Linked DNA regions of Homo sapiens: all the other regions are linked to region 2. The links are contacts of gene promoters, found by promoter capture Hi-C in human tissues and cell types (Jung and others, 2019). All regions are on one chromosome and are shown on one strand. The core of a region is centred on a gene start or on the middle of the fragment in contact, and the rest is flanking DNA. Distances in the headings are between cores, read along the strand shown.

Region 1 (4,032 bases), core at 371-2,870, 240 kb before region 2:
CAGCTTGAATTCGGAGTGATTTACCACTGCACAGAGGAGCGGCTGTACACGGGCCGGCGGGGTCGGGGCGCCTTCTGCAATGGCCAGCGGCTCCGGGTCTCCGGGGAGACAGGTGGGCTTCACAACGCTCGTCTCAGTTTACTTCTGAAATAAAAGTGTGAAAGGAGAATGCCAAAGCCACCATGATGTGGGACGGTGGTGGAGGTCCCTTGCTGATGGTGTCATCTCTTTTTAGGGACATCGTGTCCCTGATGAACTGGAAATGGAGCCAGTTCTGTATGTTAGTGTTTTTGTTCACGTGGCCAGGAGCTTTAAATAACCTCATTCTGCTTTGCGCTCACATCCCTCATCTTTCAGGCTAAAAGTACTCCAGTCGCAGTCACGATTTGGTTGTAGTGGGATTGGGTGAGCAGCCCGAGGCCAGGTGCTTGTTCCCCTCAGAGCACCCGGCACACCTCGGTGGTCCCGATTTTGCCCAGGCACTGCTGCCCAGGTGCAGTCTGTGGCCCCTGAGTGTGCACAACAGTAACTGGCTTCAGCTTCTGTGAGAAGAGCCATCCTGGGGAATGAGTCATGTGAAGAGGCACCTTAGCCCCTCTGCAGTTATGGCCTGCCGTGATTTCCTTAGCCCAGAATCTCAGGGTCATCCAGTGGCTCTGAGAGAGGGGTTCCCATTCCCTGCATACTGCCTGGAACCGCCTGTCCTGAATGGGCCAGTTTAGGTTTTCACTGATTCTTTTCGGCCTTTCTCCCACATGGATGAATCTGGTGATATTTTAACTGCATTGTGAGACAGGTACTGTAGGGAACAGAAGAATGCCAGACAAATGAGAGAAGCCTCAGACTAGCAGCAGCTGCATGGGAGATTTTACAAGCTCCATAATACCTGCATGTCTGGGTTTGAAAAGGCGGAAGTGCACTGCTGCTTGTTTCTGCCTTGTGTGTCTCTGGCGTGGACATCATGCAGGGCCCCCCATCTCATTCCCTGCCAGTTACACTCTTTCTTCTGCTCTCCCATCAGCCTCCCTGCCGCCTCCCCTCTTGACCCACTTCCAGCCTCTCTTAAAAATTCCTTTCCTGGCAACCTTTCTTCATTGTCTCTATTTATTCCTACTTCTTTCCTCCCTGGCTGATGCCTGTGTGCCCAGATGGCCTTCGAGGCAGCGAGAGGAGCTATGGCCATGGCCCATCTCTGCTGCTGTGAGCCCGTGCGGCCAGGAAAGTGGCGGGCCAGGATGGATGAGGTGTCAGGAGAGGGCCCGCCACTGTGTGAGGGACACGAAGGGCAAGATTGTGCAAAGGAGAGGAGGTGGCTGCAGGAGAGCCCAGAGCAGGGGAAGGGAGAAGTCATGGGGGCCTCTGAGGGGCAACCAGCAGTTGGACTCACCAGTTAGAGCTTCTGATCCCAGAGAGGCCTTGGAATGGCCTCTGGCCCTGCCTCACCTTCCCTCTCCAGAAGTGTTTTGTTTGGCAGTGAAAAAAGTAGCTTTAATTACAGCTGTGCGTGCCAGGAGGTGCCCACTCCAGCCTCATTGTGTAACTGGTGGTGAGGAAGCATGCTACTAAGCATGCTCGGGTGAACTTTGCTCTATATTTCACTGGATTATAACACTGAACTCTATTAACATGCTCTTGGCATCCTGGCTGCCCGCCCGTGTAGCTCAGTCAGGCTGCAACTCTGCGTCCTCCCAGCCTGCAGGCTGCTAGCTCAAGCACCAACTCCACTAGGGCAAGGGCTTTGTCCAGGGCCCCTTTATGTGGCCCCCAGTAGGCCTGGTAATTTCGTAGAATGAAGGAAACATGAAGTGCTCATGTTCTGAAACTCATTTGTGACTTTAGAAAAATTCTGATGGATAAAATGCATAGCAGATAGCTGCTGCTAGTCTGAGGCTTCTCTCATTTGTCTGGTATTCTTCTGTTCCCTACAGTACCTGTCTCACAATGCTATAAAATATCACCAAATTCCTCCATATGGGAGAAAGGCCAAAAAGAATCAGTGAAAACCTAAACTGGCCCATTCAGGACAGGCGGTTCCACGTGTTTTCTACCATGGTTGTTTTCTTTCCTATGGGTAGATGGACTTCAGGAGGTGACAGTGCATGCTCTTCAGCAGCACGGTCTCTTGGCACCATGCAGACCCAATTTCAGATCCTGATTCTGCCGCTTTTTTTTTTTTTTTTCTGAGATGGAGTCTTGCTCTGTCACCCAGGCTGGAGTGCAGTGGCACAATCTTGGCTCACTGCAACCTCCACCTCCTGGGTTCAAGTGATTCTTCTGCCTCCCAAGCAGCTGGGATTACAGGTGCGCACCACCACACCTGACTAATTTTGTATTTTTAGTAGAGACGGGGTTTCACCATGTTGGCCAGGCTGGTCTCAAACTCCTGACCTCAAGTGATCCACCCGCCTCGGCCTCCCAGAGTGTTGGGCTTACAGGTGTGAGCCACCACACCTGGCCGATTCTGCCACTTTCTAAGGTGACTAGAACTCGAGCAAGTTCCTTAACCTCTCTGAATCTCAGTCCTCATATTGAAAACGGGGATGCTGATGATAATAAAAATAACCGAGAGGATTAAATAAGTTACGCATATAAAGCACCCAGCATAGTGCCTGGGGCACAGTATCCTAAAATGAGAACCATTATCAAAGAAGAAACTTGAATCTTTGCACAAAACCAATCAAGTCATGCCCCGTTGTTAAAATTAGGACTTGTTTCTGGAGGACACAGTCATTAAAACAAGCACCACTAATCTCTCTCTCTTTCTCCCTCTCTCTTTCTGCTTCCCTTGGCTTCCCCTTTCTTATTTCTATTATGCCTTGCTGGAATATCTTCAACTCACAAGTTAAAAAACAGCACTGGATAGAGGTAAAGGATTAGAAGAAGGCAAGAATTTTATTAGCTGCTTCTTCAAATTCTACCATGCAAATTTCAGACATACACAAAGTACACAGAAAAAGCAAAATGATGCCCCATGACCCCTCACATGGCAGCACGCCTGCTTCGTGTGTGTCCACCAGCTCCCGCCACCCCCAGCTGCCTGGAGCCAATCCCAGGCATCAGGTCACTTCCTAGTCAGTACTTCAGCGTGTCTCCAAAAACAGACTGCTCTCTTACAAATACAATCACATCATCAATATCACTCTCTACCCAAAATGCATCCCTAAAATCAGCAAATAATCCCATCAGTGTTCAAATTTCCAATTGTCTCGTTTTTATGGAAAGTGGCCTCCTAAGGTCATAGTCTGCGTTCTGGGGGGACTTCCTGTTCCTGGGTCAGTCTTTGTTGCCTTTTCACTGGACTGTGCTAGGAAGTACGTATTTTTTATTTGTTTTGTTTTGTTTTTTGAAACAGGATCTCACTCTGTCACCCAGGCTGGAGTGCGGTGGTGCAGTCTTGGCTCACTGCAGCCTCCACATCCTAGGTTCAAGCAATTCTCCTGCCTCATCCTCCTGAGTAGCTGGGACTACAGGCATGCGCCACCACATCTGGCTAATTTTTTTGTATTTTTTAGTAGAGACGGGGTTTCACCATGTTGGCCAGGCTGGTCTCAAACTGCTGACCTCAAGTGAGCCTTTTGCCTCGGCCTCCGAAAGTGCTGGGGTTACAGTTGTGAGCCACTGCACCTGACCATATTTTTAAAATATAGAGTCGATAATGAGTTATACTGGGTTTTTTTTTTTCTGTTTTTTTTTTTCTGAGATGGAGTTTCACTCTTGTTGCCCAGGCTGGAGTGCAATGGGGCGATCTCGGCTCACTGCAACCTCCGCCTCCCTGGTTCAAGTGATTTTCCTCCTAAGCCTCCCAAGTAGCTGGGATTACAGGCGCATGCCACCATGCCCAGCTAATTTTTGTATTTTTAGTGGAGACAGGGTTTTGTCATGTTGGCCAGGCTGGTCTTGAACTCCTGACCTCAGGTGATCCACCCGCCCGGGCCTCCCAAAGTATTGGGATTACAGGCATGAGCCACCACACCCGGCCTCAACCCCATCTCTTAAAAAAATAAAAAGATAACCTTTGCTCTCAGTAACAGT
Region 2 (4,046 bases), core at 1,310-3,809:
AGCCCACTGTTCACAGCTGCACAGGCTCTGTGACAACAAACATTTGGTGAATTGAACTAAAAAGCTGGGTTCCCAATCCTGGTTGCCCGGGCACAGAGTAGTTGTTGAACATGGATGAATGAAACCTGTCGAGTGAGAGTGGAATGAATTTGTGTGCTGGAGACGAGAATATGCTGGAAGGCTGGGCATGACTCGCACTGTTGTCTTCTCCATCATCTGTTGGGTTTGCAGCCAAGTCCCCTGGAGCTCAGTCTGCCCTCTGCCCTCTCCCACCTCTCCCCACCACCCTCCTAGCGCAGCACTCCAGGATTCCCACTCAGCAGCAGGGCAGTGACCGACTTTTACTCCCAGCCTGAAGATCTGCATGAGAACCAATGCACACCAGGGCTATGCTGCCTCCGTGACCAAGGGGTCCCCAGGGCCTGGTCTCACCACCATCTCCGCTTCCACCACAGACTTGCTCCCGTCCAGGATTCCTCATCTCTCCAGTCTCCCAAGCTCAAAACCCCAGGGTGATCTCCTGCTGGGTCCCTTCTGCCATCGCCATGGCCTGGAAATGTTTGCTAGTCCCCACCCCACCCCCATGTCCACACTCAGTGCCCAGGTCTTTATTTTTATTTTGTTAGAAGTGATAATGTCACTATGGTTATGTATGAGATCATGTCCTTGTTTCTCCAGAGATGCAAGCTAAAGGATTTAATTTGGAAGGGTTCAAATTCAAATATAAAGAACAAAGAAATATGTCAAAATGTTAACAGTGGTTGAATCCAGGGGCTGGGTGTAAGTGTGCTCATTGTACTGTTCTCTCTTATCTATCTATCTATCTATCTATCTATCTATCTATCTATCTATCTTATATATAGATAGATAGATATATACACACAAACAGATTTTTTTCTTTCTTTAGAGAGAAAGTCTCACTCTGTTGCCCATATTGGAGTGCAGTGACATGATCACAGCTCACTGCAACCTCAAACTCCTGGGCTCAGGTGATCCTCCCTCCTCAGCCTCCTGAGTAGCTAGCACTACAGGTGCTCGCCGTCATGCTTGGCTAATTATCGTTATTTTTGTGTAGAGATAGTAGTCTCACAGTGTTACCCAGGCTGGTCTCAAATTCCTGGCTTCAAGCCATCCTCCTGTTTTGGCCTCCCAAAGTACTGGGATTACAGATGTAAGCCAGTACCCTCAGCCCTGTTCTTTCTATGTATCTCTATATTTGAACTTTTTCACAATAAAAAGGTTAGAGGTAAGTTGACCTGAATTGATTGGACCCATTTTCTCATCCATCACATTGGGGCTGTGAGTGGGAGGGGCAGTGAATGACCTCCTAAAGCTGTGTCCGCTCAGTGCCTCTGGGGGAAGCTGCCCCCTGTGAGCCTGGAGCTGGGTGTTCCCAGCAGGCGGAGTCCTTGACTCTGGAAGGCAATTGCCTTTGGCTTCAACAGTCCTGCAAGTCACAAGGCTTGTTGACCACGGTGACCCTTTCTGAGAGCCAGCGGAGGAAGAGGGCGGGCATAGGGTCAGGTCTTAAGAGATCAGGTCAGTCTGCTCAAACCAGGTGGGCTCAGGAGGAGCCGGCGAGGGTCCCGCTGCAGCTCCCGAAACGCTGTTTCCAGGCGGCAGTCAGCAGTTGGGCACGAGAGGATATCCTAGCAAGCCTCCATCCCAGAAAGTTACACCTCTTACTGCCCGAGTCCCACCCCTCAACACTGAGCCCACCTCTTCAGTCCTGTAGTGAGGGGTTCTGGGAACCCCTTGTAACTGCCCGCCTTCCTCGGAGGTCTCAGAGGCCCTAATTGCGTCTTCCGATGGGAACAACCATGAGAGCAGGGTGTGGACGGAAGTCCCCCAGCCCCAGCGGGGTTCACTCTTTGCCTCCTCACTCTGCGAGGGTCCCTTACTACAGCTAAAAGGCAATTCATGCAGTCCAAAGGCTCCTTTCCCCTCCCGTTCTGCATGCCCTTCTCACTGTCCCCAAATGCTCATGACATGGCCTTGAGAGCAGCGCAGCGGGCAGGAAGCCCAGGCGCCTCGGAGAACCTGAAGGGCTGCAGGTCCCGGTGTCTGCGGCAGCTTCCGCATCCCTGCAGGGAACCAGCGGCTCGCTGAGCCTGGGGCTGGGCTCTGGGGGACTCCAGAGCTGGAGGCAAGTGGCGCTCACATCCGTCTCCTCACCTGCCCCACCCGTGGCCTGGGTTTAAAATCCACATACCCGTCTTTCCGCGGCCAAAGTGATGCTGCCAGGATTGGTTATGACCCCAACTGCCCCGACCCCCAGAAGTGCAAAACGAACAGGCTGGCAAGTGACCAAAAGAGACCCGGGGAGCATCTGGGCTTCCAAGGTCCTCGGTACGGCCCAAGGCAGCGAAGGACGCGCGGCTCCAGGCTGCGGGAGCCAGGACGACCGGGGGCTCCCAGAGCGCGAAGTCGCGATCCTCGGCGGTGGAGAGCTCGTGCCAAAACGTCCTCCCCTGCGCCAGTCAGGCCTTCGCGGGGCTGGCAGGCGGGCGGGGGCGGGGCCGCCGCACTTTAAGAGGCTGTGCAGGCAGACAGACCTCCAGGCCCGCTAGGGGATCCGCGCCATGGAGGCCGCCCGGGACTATGCAGGAGCCCTCATCAGGCGAGTGCCCCGCGTCCCCCTGATTGCCGTGCGCTTCCAATCGCCTTGCGTTCGGTGGCCTCATATTCCCCTGTGCGCCTCTAGTACCGTACCCCGCTCCCTTCAGCCCCCTGCTCCCCGCATTCTCTTGCGCTCCGCGACCCCGCGCACACACCCATCCGCCCCACTGGTGCCCAAGCCGTCCAGCCGCGCCCGCGGGCAGAGCCCAATCCCGTCCCGCGCCTCCTCACCCTCTTGCAGCTGGGCACAGGTACCAGGTGTGGCTCTTGCGAGGTGCGCGGGCGTCTGCAAACCAGGTGACAGCTGGCGAGTGGCTGCATGCATCTCTGGCCGCTGCTGCAGTCGCGGGCGCAGAAGAGGGTCCGGTCCCAGGAACCCCGAGCAAAGCTTCCGCGATGCGAGGGGACCGGGCTTCTGGGGGTCCTGGAAATCACAACGGGAGCTGGGCGCGGGAGGGGCCCAGGCTTGGCCCCTCCTGGAAGCGCGGGCTCTGGTCTCCGAGGGGAGGCCCCAACCGTCCGGCGGAGCCCTCCAGGTTGGTGGTGCTGGGAGAAGCGCTCCTCCTTGCCTCCGGGTCCAAGGGCGGAGACGCTGCCTGGGGAGCAGGGGGGACAAGGGGCGGGTGGACCCTGAGGAGTCTTCCCTGCGCTTCGCACCCGCTCGTGGTCGAACAGGCAGCATTGGCTATTTTCCTGCTTGGGTTAATATTCATATCCCAACAGACCCAAGCCAATTCTTGGTAAAATCCTAAGTCATTGCGTGGCAGCAACTGTAAAGTAAGGTCTAAGAGGGAGATCGTGTTTCTCTGAAGATCAAGTACCTGGAAAAGGATAGAGAACCATTTGCGGGCTTGAAGGTGCAGGCGTTCAGCGGCGCCGGGTCCCACTGTGTGTGCTACGTGTGGCGGGCAGAGAGACTACATGTGTGAAAGGGAGCGGTCCGGCTACGAAACGCAATCTATGAGCTTCCAATCCCGGGTTCTTAAATGGGAGCTGTTGTAGACACTGCAGGTTAGAAGCATCTTTCTCTTTAAAAATAAGCCCACAGTACAAGTCGGGGCGGTGGCAGGGGGACGCTGAGAAACACCTGCTTCGTGTATGGTCATTAACACGCTTAGGCCTAAAGGTCAGGGCCCTGTATCTTTTGCGTTCTTCCAGAACCATCCACACCACAGTCCCACTTCCAGGAGGGGAGGTCTTAGCAGTTTGGAATGCGTCCTTCCAACCACTTTTCCAGTGAATTCACAACACACCCACTGTTCCTCCGGAGCATGGGGGAAGGAGGTGTGGGCTGACTCGCACTAACCAATCCTGGTTGGCCTCTGAGCAGGATTCAGGCTGAGCCTGTCCCTGCCTCTGACTATTATAACAGCTCACCAAAATCCAAAATGCATCTGTGTGGGGTCTCTGTGAGGTCGTGTGAAGTG
Region 3 (4,229 bases), core at 907-3,406, 150 kb before region 2:
AGCTTTGTGCTTGCTTCGCGGCACATATGCTAAAGTTGGACCAATACAGAGAAAATTAGCATGGCCCCTGCATAAGCATGTCACACTAATCTGTGAAGCAGTCCATATTTTACACAGTTACAAGAAGGCCATTTGACTAGTTTGCTGACAAGTTCCCGGAAAACAGTGTGAGTCAAAGCAAAACAGGTGCTAGCCAATAATGAAATTACACATTTTCATTACAAAAACATTGGAGTAAGGTATCTATGAAATGAGAATGGCGCTGAGTAAACTCGTGGTGTGTTGTGTGCAAATATATTGTTAGTATGTATCTCAGAAATGAAAAAATAACCACTTGCATCTCCTTCATGACCCTTCAAAAATATGAGGGTTTTTGTCTTCCATGTCAGTTGGGGATGACCATGGAGAGGAAGCATCATTCTAACAAAGATCTGCCAGTTCAGAGTTAGAGTCTATAGAGGAAAAATAGTAGTAGTCCAAGCCAGGTCTTGACATCTGTTAGCTTTCTGCCTTTGGTGTGATTGATGACATAAGTAACAATGGATAATCATGTTATCTATTTTAATGAGACAATCTATTTATCAATTTAGTTACAAACTGTGAAATAGTTGAGATGTCCTGAATCATAAGCTACAAATAATAGAACAAGTAACAAGCAAAATTAGGACTTAACAACATTTTCAAAAGATCATAACATTTTAATATTAGAACATATGTGAAAATACACATTGGGTTTCATTTGGGATTCCAAAATAATTTCAGCAAAAAAGTTCAAGAACAAATTATTCCATTGCTTTACTATTTCTCTGAGCACCTTAAAATGTGGTTTCATTAAACATTTATAATAACCTAGTGAATAAGGTAGTAAAACCTTCATTCTTTAGAAGAAGACATTGAGCCTAAGAGAAGAGACTTGTTCAAGAACAAATACCCATTGGTCCTATTATGAGTCAGATCATTTTCCATTATGTCAACTTCACATGAGTTAATTTACTGAGTTATACTGTCCTCACTTCATACTTTTTTCTTCTTTAATTAGAAGCTTAATAAGAGTTTTGTAGAGCTTACAAACTAAAAGTGTATAATTAAAGTTCTGATATTGTTTGATATACTCTTAAGAATTTAATGTATTTGGTAAAGTTTTTCATATCAGTATTAAAATAGTAATTGTATTTACTGCATTTTGATACATAGCATTCGTGGAATGATTTCTGAATATAAAGCAAACAAGAGATGTAAAAGTCTTCAAAATAGCAATTCAGGTATGACTTCTGATAGTGAATTCCTCTCGATGGTCCTGTCATAGATAAAAAAGTAAGAGGAAGGAAGTTTTGATCACAAAACAGCAGTTTAAAAAAACCACTGTAAATTGAATGTATATTTTTTAATTACTTTCTTAGTAATCTAGATTTCAGAATTATTTAAAAAGTTACTTGTAGGCAAGTTATAATCTCAAGCAGTATTATCTGAAAAAAACTCATTATCGTAGTTTCTGAAATTCTAGATGATATTTTTGTGTAAATAAGAAAAAAGATTAAGTTAGTATGTGGTATGTTTTCTTTATAGTCACCTTATGATGAATTGGATTTGTTATAACATTGGATATTTTAATTTATAAAACAAATGCTTTGCATTTAGTAAATACATATTACAGCTGAGCCTTGAGTAGTGTGGGATTTAGGGGTACCAGTCCCCCATTCAGTTTGAAATCTGTATATAACTCTGGACTCCCCCCTAAAACTTAACTACTCATGACTTATTGTTGACTAGAAACCTTATTGATTATACAGTTAATTAAGACATATTAGTTATATGTATTATATACTGTATTGTTACTACAATAAAGTAAACTAGAGAAGAAGAAACTTATAAAGAAATTCATAATGAAGAAAGAATATATTTTTATTCAGTGGAAAGTGGATCATCATAAAGCTCTTCATCCTCAGAGTCTTCAAGTTGGCTAGGCTGAGGAGGAGTAGGAGGTAGAGGGAGATTGATCTTGCCATCTCAGGTGGCAGAGGCAGAAGAAAGTCTGCAGATGAGCGGGCCCTTGCAGTTCAAACCTGTGTTGTTCAGAGATTAACTCTGACATGGTGATTTGTGTCACTTAAAAAGTAACTGTCTTTAAAATAAGAATTTCAATGAGACCTTTCTGGTACCATGAACAAACATCAATAAGAACTGTACCAATACCAATAGGATGTTATTTTTTAAAGATACCTACTGTGTAGAGAAGTCAGAAAATAAATTCCTTATTGAGAAGCACAGGCCGTGTTACATATTCTCATACCAAGAATGTCTCACTAGTATTGACTTAATTCCCCCCAAGTGGAAATAAAATGAGATATATTTACTTCGTTAGGGTGAGATTTGTTCTATCTGCTAGTTAATTGTCATGATAATATCAATTTTGTTAGAAGAAGACACTCTGTTACCATTAGCTAAAATATTATTATAATAATATTCGAATAGCCCAACTCTAGGCTCAGCACATTATAGTAAAAGTACAGCAACCATTACCAGAACAGACCGGGGGCTGCCTCTTTGAAGTAGGACACATGCTGTGCCACACAGCCCCACAACTTAAAAATACATGTAGGATAATGGTATAATTAAGTATGATGTGTTGCATTAAAAATATGCCACAGCACTCTCCCATAAGCTTTGACATTTATCCTCTCAGGATCATGATTTGCTATTCTTAACTGAAAAACACTTTTTTTTTGCAAGCCATTAGGTTCATTTTGGAATGTGTGTACTTTTCTTTTTTTTAATTATACAACATTTTATTTAAAAACAATTCATAGAATACATTTTCACATTAGAGATTCCCATAGTGGGAAAATAGCAATGTATTACTTATAGTTTCATATTCATGGACAGATTGTTTCAGAACAAGTAAAACACATTTGAGACTTGAGTCTCAGTTTAGAATTTGTAATATTTTGATATGTCTACAAGGGGAACCTTGCCCTTAAATGGAACTTCTCTATATTCAGAAGCACTCCAAGCTTTTCTTCCTAAGATTTAGAAATTCATAATGTGAGATATCAGCATTTCCTAATTTTAAAATTTCCCCAGTATATGTAACCATCAGTAGGTGGTATCTACTGAATAGAGAGGGAAGTTTTCAAAAACTGAACACTCTCTAATTTTCTGCGATGTTTTTATTCATGAATTAACAGTATTTCCCTTTGTCCATCATTCCCAGGGCAAAAACAGAAATTTGATCATATATTAATAGTAATAAAGCTGGATTCTCTTTAAGAGATTGATAAAAGGCAAAAGCTCGTATCATGTTTAGTTATACTGTGACTCTTATGAGAAGCTGGGAGGCAACCCCATTAACTCACCGCAATACAAAACTCAGTCTCACAATTTCTTAGTCGTAATTCCTCTCAAACCTTTTCCTCAAATATTAAATTTGGAAAACAATCTTGTGATTAAGAGAAGAAGGCTGTCCACCAATGGACTTACCCTGTTATTTCTTCCTTATTGTGAGTTGAATGGCATGACAAAGCAGAGGCAAAGAGGCATACATCAGTTCTTCAAAGTATTAAGTCAGAAAGGTCAGAGCTTCCACAGCGTGGCAACAGCTTTGCAGATGCCCACATCATGGTAGTTGAAATAGCAAAGCCCAGCAAAGGTTAAAGCTGAAAGTGCCAGAAGCTCTGCCTTGGGAGCTTTCTGCAAGGCATCCCCATGAACATAGTCAGTAACAACTTGTCCAAGGCCCGAGTAACTATGAAGAGTGAGGGTTGCAGCAAGGAGTAGAGTCCGTCACAGAGCCAAGGATTCAAATAAGCAGCTGGAAGCAGGCCCAGGAGCAAAACACTGACGACCCTCTCACTAGTCCAGTGGAGAGACGCAACCTGGGAACCAGAATGGTGGCTTGGTGACAAGCCAATGTACTCACTCCACACCATTCGGGGGTAGGTCGGTTCTGAAGTAATGCTGAGATAGGAGCAGGTGTGACCACTGGGGTTCGCAGCAACAGAGCTCAGCCTCCTTGGGCACCGCGAAGGGTACTCAGTCTCCAGAGAACCGCCATCTCATTCCTGAAAACTCAAGGTCATCCACCAACCCCCACTTTGTATTTTAGTTATAGTCGGTTAAAACATAAACTCGCTTTTGAAACCTTAACTGCATGTTTTATGAAACCTGTATTATATAAAACTGTTTGTCTGGGGAAAGAGCCAGAATCAGAGAAGAGTTTACACAGCTGTTGA

The links. Contacts are between HindIII fragments. The study calls those that stand out against the background at their distance.
Region 1: a fragment that was not itself captured here is called in contact with the fragment with the promoter of CIDEA in region 2 in 4 of the 25 tissues and cell types used here (bladder, lymphoblastoid cells, mesenchymal stem cells and 1 more).
Region 3: a fragment that was not itself captured here is called in contact with the fragment with the promoter of CIDEA in region 2 in 6 of the 25 tissues and cell types used here (H1 embryonic stem cells, liver, lymphoblastoid cells and 3 more).

What each region holds. Positions count from the first base shown.
Region 1 is chr18:12,014,262-12,018,293 of GRCh38, forward strand. IMPA2 (inositol monophosphatase 2) reads left to right here. Exons shown (of 8, transcript NM_014214.3): 5 at 4-112. Among named protein-coding and RNA genes, the nearest start is that of IMPA2, 35 kb to the left of the region's middle. The HindIII fragment of the contact is 5,071 bases long and covers 1-4,032 here.
Region 2 is chr18:12,251,802-12,255,847 of GRCh38, forward strand. CIDEA (cell death inducing DFFA like effector a) reads left to right here and starts at 2,560. Exons shown (of 5, transcript NM_001279.4): 1 at 2,560-2,620. The coding sequence starts at 2,583. LOC105371996 (a long non-coding RNA gene) reads left to right here and starts at 3,212. Exons shown (of 2, transcript XR_935158.3): 1 at 3,212-3,630; 2 at 3,778-4,046. RefSeq lists an enhancer at 1,696-2,302. The HindIII fragment of the contact is 10,266 bases long and covers 1-3,916 here.
Region 3 is chr18:12,098,421-12,102,649 of GRCh38, forward strand. ANKRD62 (ankyrin repeat domain 62) reads left to right here. Exons shown (of 14, transcript NM_001277333.2): 6 at 1,195-1,262. It also overlaps the pseudogene RNU6-324P and the pseudogene SDHDP1. Among named protein-coding and RNA genes, the nearest start is that of ANKRD62, 6.7 kb to the left of the region's middle. RefSeq lists an enhancer at 1-110. The HindIII fragment of the contact is 3,311 bases long and covers 502-3,812 here.